Linked DNA regions of Homo sapiens: region 1 is linked to region 2. Evidence: promoter capture Hi-C in human tissues and cell types (Jung and others, 2019). All regions are on one chromosome and are shown on one strand. The core of a region is centred on a gene start or on the middle of the fragment in contact, and the rest is flanking DNA. Distances in the headings are between cores, read along the strand shown. Region 1 overlaps LOC284009 (a long non-coding RNA gene). Region 2 holds the start of PITPNA (phosphatidylinositol transfer protein alpha).

Region 1 (2,886 bases), core at 269-2,768, 840 kb after region 2:
CTCCCTCTGTTGCCCAGGCTGGAGTGCAGTGGTGTGATCTTGGCTCACTGCAACTTCTGCCTCCCAGGTTCAAGTGATTCTCCTGCCTCAGCCTCCGGAGTAGCTGGGATTACAAGCACGCACCACCACGCCCGGCTAATTTTTGTATTTTTAGTAGAGACGGGGTTTCACCATGTTGGCCAGGCTGGTCTCAAACTCCTGACCTCAAGTGATCTGCCTGTCTTGGCCTCCCAAAGGGCTGGGATGACAGGCGTGAGCCACCGCGCCCGGCTGTTCCTTAAGTTTCTTCATGGCTTCTGGGTGCTTAGTACCTTGGAGCAGGAGAAAAGCTGGGCTGTCCATCATTGTGAGTTTCTCACGAGAGGGTTTCCGTTTTCAGTCTTCCTCCCCGAGTCTTGTGCACCCCACCTCCCAGTTCAAATTCCATTATGTCCTCCAATTTTTTAATCTTTTATTCTTTTTTTCACCAACCACAATAAGAAGCACCAATTCCCCAATTTTTTAATATGCTGAGCCAGAGACATCCCCTTAGTGGAACTGTCTTCCTATCCCCCACCACTCACCTAACAAAGTATCAACTCCAAGAGCTATGAAAATCAGTGCCCTGACTCCTACAAAGCCTGAGTCATGAGATGGGGGAAAGGGCGTGAAGCCGAAAGTACAGATGTTCACAGGAAATCCCAACCCTTCAAGCCTGATGTCTCATCTTTTGCAAGCAGCTAAGGAGCTTTTCACATACCATCATTAAAACAAGACCCATGGGAGGAAGCTGGCTGCAGGATGAAGAGGAAAAAACAGAAGACTAGTACACTCAAGACATACCAGAGAAGATCCATTTCATAAATATTTATTGTGTGCCTGAGGTGCCAAGCACTAGGCTAGGTATGCTGTGGCCAAGGCCAGGGGACCTCTGGTAAGCCAGAGCGGGGCAAAAGCAAACAGAGCGGAACTCCACTCCACTGTGATAACTTGCAAAAGATTAGTTCTGCTGTTCGCCACCGTGCTGGATGCAGCACCAGAGACAGGACGACACGAGGACCCAGAGGGCGCCGCCATGCTCATTTCAGAAGGTGCAGCCTCCGTGTCCGTGGGTCCGCACCCATGGAGGCAACTAACCGTGGATCAAAAATATTCAGGAAAAAAAAATGGAAAATATACAAGAAAAAATAATACAAATTTAAAAACCAACACAGCACAAGAACTATTTACACAGCATTTACATGGTATGAGGTATTTGAGTAGCGCAGAGATGAGTTAAAGGATACCTGAGGATGTGCATAGGTTACATGTAAGGGATTTGAGCATCATCCATGGACAGGTATTCAGGGAGGCTCCAGGAACCAATCCCCATTGGACAGTGAGAAGCAACTGTAATTCCGTTTTTCTATGTAGAGATAAAAACAAATTCAGTGGATTTAAGGCTGGGCCAGTCAACTGAGCCTGATTCCCCCAGTCTGAATGATGAGTGGGACTCTGAATTCCTTTGACAGAGGTGGACCCATTCAATCATCAGTGAAATGGGGTCCCCACAGCCAAAAGTTTCCACAGGACTCTTTACCTCCTTTCCCCACCCCAAGTGAGTTGTCAGAGGACCTCTCCTGAACTCACAGAACAGGTCCAATCAAGTTCCACCTCCCCATTCATGTCCTTTCCAGAAGCTGGGCGCGGTGGCTCACGCCCTAAGTTCCAGCTACGTGGGAGGCTGAGACAGGAGAATCGCCTGAGCCCAGGATTTCAAGGCCAGCCTGGGCAACATAGCAAGATACTGTCTCAAAAAAAAAAAAAAAAAAATTGCAGCCTCACATGATGTCATAGCTGGAAGAGCTGGGATCATGGGGTCTGACCTCCCAAGAGAAGGTGTATCCAAGGTCACAAAGCTGCCAAGCATCAGCTAGGTTGAGAAGTGGCCTGGTCCTCCTCTTTGGCTGGCTGGGCCAGGCCTGGGGAAGTGCTATCAGTGTGGGGTGTTGAGTCCCTGAAAGCCTCCCAGAAGTGGGTGAAGATGGAGAGGGAACTCCACCCCTCCTCGTTAAAGACAGGAATAATCATTCACTTTGCTTAGTGGTCCCCAATAAACAAGCTTAGCAGATAAGCGGGAAGACAGGGAAAGGGAATCAGACTTGGGATCCAGGAGCTCGCAGGACCCTGTTCTGCCCCAGGCCACTCAGGAATGGAGAGCTGCTAGCTGGACCTGGGTAGGTCACCATTACTCACTGGGGCTTTTGTCTGGCATGAAAGGTGACGGGAGAAAGGGGCAGATTTTTATCCAGGCAGCCACCGTGGGTGTGGACACTGAGTAATAAGGAAAGAAATGCAGTTCAGAAGCAAAGAGGGAGGAGCCAGGTCCTCTGAGCTCTTCTGAGAAACCAGAGCCCAGTCGAGCTCTGCAGCTAGAGTGGCAGCTGCGGATGACAGTGGGTCAGAAGCTTGGTGGGAGGAGGCTGACCCAGCGGAAAGGCACAGGAGACGGATGACGATGTCAGGGATTCCTTTAAAGGAAAAAAGAGGTGGCTTTATGACAGCAAAACTAATTCAGGTCAAGGGAGTGGGACTGGGCAGAAGTTATGAGTAAAGCCGGGTGGAGTCTTGCCATGGGAGTCAAGAGTCCGCTGGATCACGCAGGGGTGGGGACATGGTGATAGGGAAGAAACCTCCCAGGACCGACGGGCTGCAATGTGATCAGTGCCCCACACAAAGGACTAAGGTCTATATCCCAGCAGCCCCAGTTCACACCCAAATGCAAGGCTGTAGCATCAAGTCTTGAAAGCCCAAGAGATCAGCAGCCTATGCCAGGAATGAGGCTCTCTCTGGAGGCAAGGCCGAGAGCAGTGGCCGGTCACTGGCTGCACAGCCCAGAGCAGATACCACAGAGCCAGGGCTCAGCTC
Region 2 (3,022 bases), core at 112-2,611:
AATTTCCCCATCTCTTTGCACCAAGACTGAGAATCCCCTAGAAACAAGCTGGCCCTGCCCTGGTCTCCCCCATCTCCAACGGCAGGTATACTCATCCCAACATACTCTCTTTCCGGACCAGCCTCGACCCCGGTAACTTCCCGGCCTTCTCCACTTCGGACCCTACCCAACATTTTCTGGCCTCCTCGCCCAAGTCTCCCCACGTCCCAAGCAGTCATCCCAAGCTTGTTCCAAAAGCCTCCTCTTCCGCACCAGCTGCTTGGGCACCACGGTTACTCCGGCCCGCATCTCAGCCCCCTCTGCATGTCCTCAGACCCTTCACCTGTCTCCCCAGCCAGGCCCTGACTTCCTAGTCCTCCTCCTGTGTCCACTTACCACCACCCCTCACCCGATGCCTAAGGCGGCCACTCCTCCCCATCCCCATCCCAACTCCATCGCGGAGCCTCTGACCCATCCACCCGGCTCTCCGTGTGAACTGTTCGGCCCTCCACCTTTCCCCACCGCCGGGAGGCCCTGCCTGCCCCGGTGCGCCTCTTCCTCGGCCGCCGCGGGGCCTCTCAGCGCCGCCTGCAGTCCCGGCTGAGCCCGCGCCCTCGGCCCGCGCAGAGCGACCCCACAGCACTCCCAGCGCTCGGCGTCCCCTCGGCCTCCCCCAGTCCCGGGCCAGCTCTCCCTGCCCTGACCCCGTCTCGGGCCTGGCCTCGCCCTCGCTGTCCCCGGCCTCTCCTCGGGTCCACTTGGGCCTCCGAGGCCCCCGGGGCGCCTGAGGAGCCGTCCGCCCGGGTTGTCCCTCCGTGCCCGTGGGCCCCTCCATGCCCCGGCTGCCCGTCCATGCCCCGTGGGCCCCGGCTCAGATGCCGAACGCCCCGGCTGCCCCTCCACGCCCCGGCCGCCCCTCCACGCCCCGGCCGCCCCTCCGTGCCCCGTGGGCCCCGCCTCACGTGCCGCCCGCCCCGGATCCCCTCCATCCCCGCTGGGCCCGCCTCAGGCACCCTCCGTCCCTGCTGCCCCTCCGTCCATCCGGGCCCTGCGTCCCTCGCCGCGCCGTCGCCCCGGCGGCCGTCCCCACCCTCCCTCCTCCCCGCTTCCGCACGGCCGCCGGACACTCACTACTCCTTGAGCAGCACCATGTCGCTTCGCGGCTCGGTGGCTGCCCGCGGCCCGCCCGGCCTCCCGCCCGCTGCCCGCCGGCCGCTCTCCCCGTGGCCCGGCCCGGCCCGGCTGCCTGTGCGTCTTCGTCGTGCTCTGCTCCGTCCCCGCCGCCCTCGCCGCGGTCGCCGCGCCGGCTCCTGCCGCCCGGGCCTCGTCGCCTCTCGCGCCGCTGCCGACGCCGCCCGGAGCTCCGGTTCCGCAGCGCCGCGCGGGGGCGGGGCGTCTCTGCGGCAACCAGAGCGTCACACGCCGCGGTGCGCGCTGACGTCACGCGGGGCCGAGCCTTCCCAGGCCCGCCCTCCCGTCCTTAAGTGGGCCGCGGCGGCGCTGTCGGTTCCGAGGTGGGGCCCCGCGGCTGGGGCCAGACCCGGCAGAAGGCGGAGCAGACTAGGGTGTCCGTCACCGTCCTCGGTGTGAACCGCCACGGATGCACGCGGGTGCTGGCTGGGGGGCCTCCCCGGTTGAGGGAATTGAGACCCAGGAAAAGGTTGTTTCAAAAAATATTAATAGCCGCGCGCGGTGGCCCACGCCTGTAATCCTTGCACCTTGGGAGGCCGAGGCGGGCGGATCACCTGAGGTCAGGAGTTCGAGACCAGCCTGGCCAACATGATGAAACCCCGTCTCTACTAAAAATACAAAAATTAGCTGGGCGTGGAGGCACGCACCTGTAATCCCAGCTACACGGGAGGCTGAGGCGGGAGAATCGCTTGTACCGGGAGGCAGAGTTTGCAGTGAGCCGAGATCGCGATCGCGCCATTGCACTCCAGCCTGGGGGACAAGAGTGAAACTTCGTCTCAAAAAAAAAAAAAAGAAAAGAAAAGGGCTGTGAGGCCGGGCGCGGTGGCTCCTGGCAGTAATCCCAGGCACATCATGCCTGTAATGCAGCACTCAGGCGGGCGCATCACCTGAGGTCAGGAGTTCCAGACCAGATGGCGAAACCCCATCTCTACTAAAAGTACAAAAATTAGCCGGGCGTGGTGGTGGACGTGGTGGTGGTAGTCCCAGCTGCTCGGGAGGATGAGGCAGGAGAATCGCTTGAACCCTGGAGGCGGAGGTTGCAGTGAGCCGAGATCGCACCATTGCACTCCAGCTGGGGCGACAGAGCGAGACTCTGCATCAAAAAAAAAAAAAAAAAAAAGAATGAAAAGGGCTGTGAGAAATGAGACACAGGCTTAGCGGCATTACACGGAGGGGCACCTAATTGAGCGTCAGGGATGTAGTCAGGGAAGGCTTCCTGGAGGAAGAGATTCTCAGATCTGCAGAGGGCTTCGGAGAAGAGCATAGCAGGCAGAGTGAATGCAAAGGCTGGAGGCAAGAGGGAGAGCATGGTGCATTTGGAGAACTGACAAGTGAGTGGAACAGAACATTTCAGGGCTGAGCAGCTCAATAGGGGAGGGTTCCTGGTGAACGATGATAAGGTATTTGGAGTCCACCCTAAGGGCGGTGGGAGGGCATGTAAGGGCTCTGAGCAGTGACATGAGCGGGTGTCCTGGGCGAAGGCTCACTCTAGTGGTTGGGTGGACAGAGGGGATGGAATGCCAGAGCGTAGGCAGGGAGACCGGCGAGGAGGCTGCTGCAGATGTCCAGGTGCAGGTGGACTAGGACAGTGGGAGGGAAGAAAAGGAAGGGATGGATTCAGGAGCAACTCAGAAGGTAAACTCCGTGAGACTTGTTGACTCATTGGCTGAGAGGAGGAGAGAAAAGCAGCGAGGTCTCTGGCCTGGGAGCCGGGGTGGACGGTACTGTCTTCTCTGAGAACACAGGCAAGACAGGCTGGCATGGGGGCAGGTAATGACTCCAGTGCTGGACTCACACTCAGCGCAGGACGCTAGAGGGGCATCCAGGGGAGATGGGAGTGGGCTGCCTAAGA

What was found. Contacts are between HindIII fragments. The study calls those that stand out against the background at their distance.
Region 1: a contact is called between a fragment that was not itself captured here and the fragment with the promoter of PITPNA in region 2, in 1 of the 25 tissues and cell types used here (spleen).

The regions. Positions count from the first base shown.
Region 1 is chr17:2,404,742-2,407,627 of GRCh38, forward strand. LOC284009 (a long non-coding RNA gene) reads right to left here. Exons shown (of 3, transcript NR_028335.1): 3 at 2,240-2,489. Among named protein-coding and RNA genes, the nearest start is that of MNT, 5.1 kb to the left of the region's middle. The HindIII fragment of the contact is 5,447 bases long and covers 1-2,886 here.
Region 2 is chr17:1,561,431-1,564,452 of GRCh38, forward strand. It overlaps PITPNA (phosphatidylinositol transfer protein alpha), which reads right to left and starts at 1,362. Exons shown (of 12, transcript NM_006224.4): 1 at 1,111-1,362. The coding sequence starts at 1,130. RefSeq lists enhancers at 315-414, 1,183-1,682 and silencers at 525-654, 1,135-1,184, 1,255-1,534. The HindIII fragment of the contact is 13,696 bases long and covers 1-3,022 here.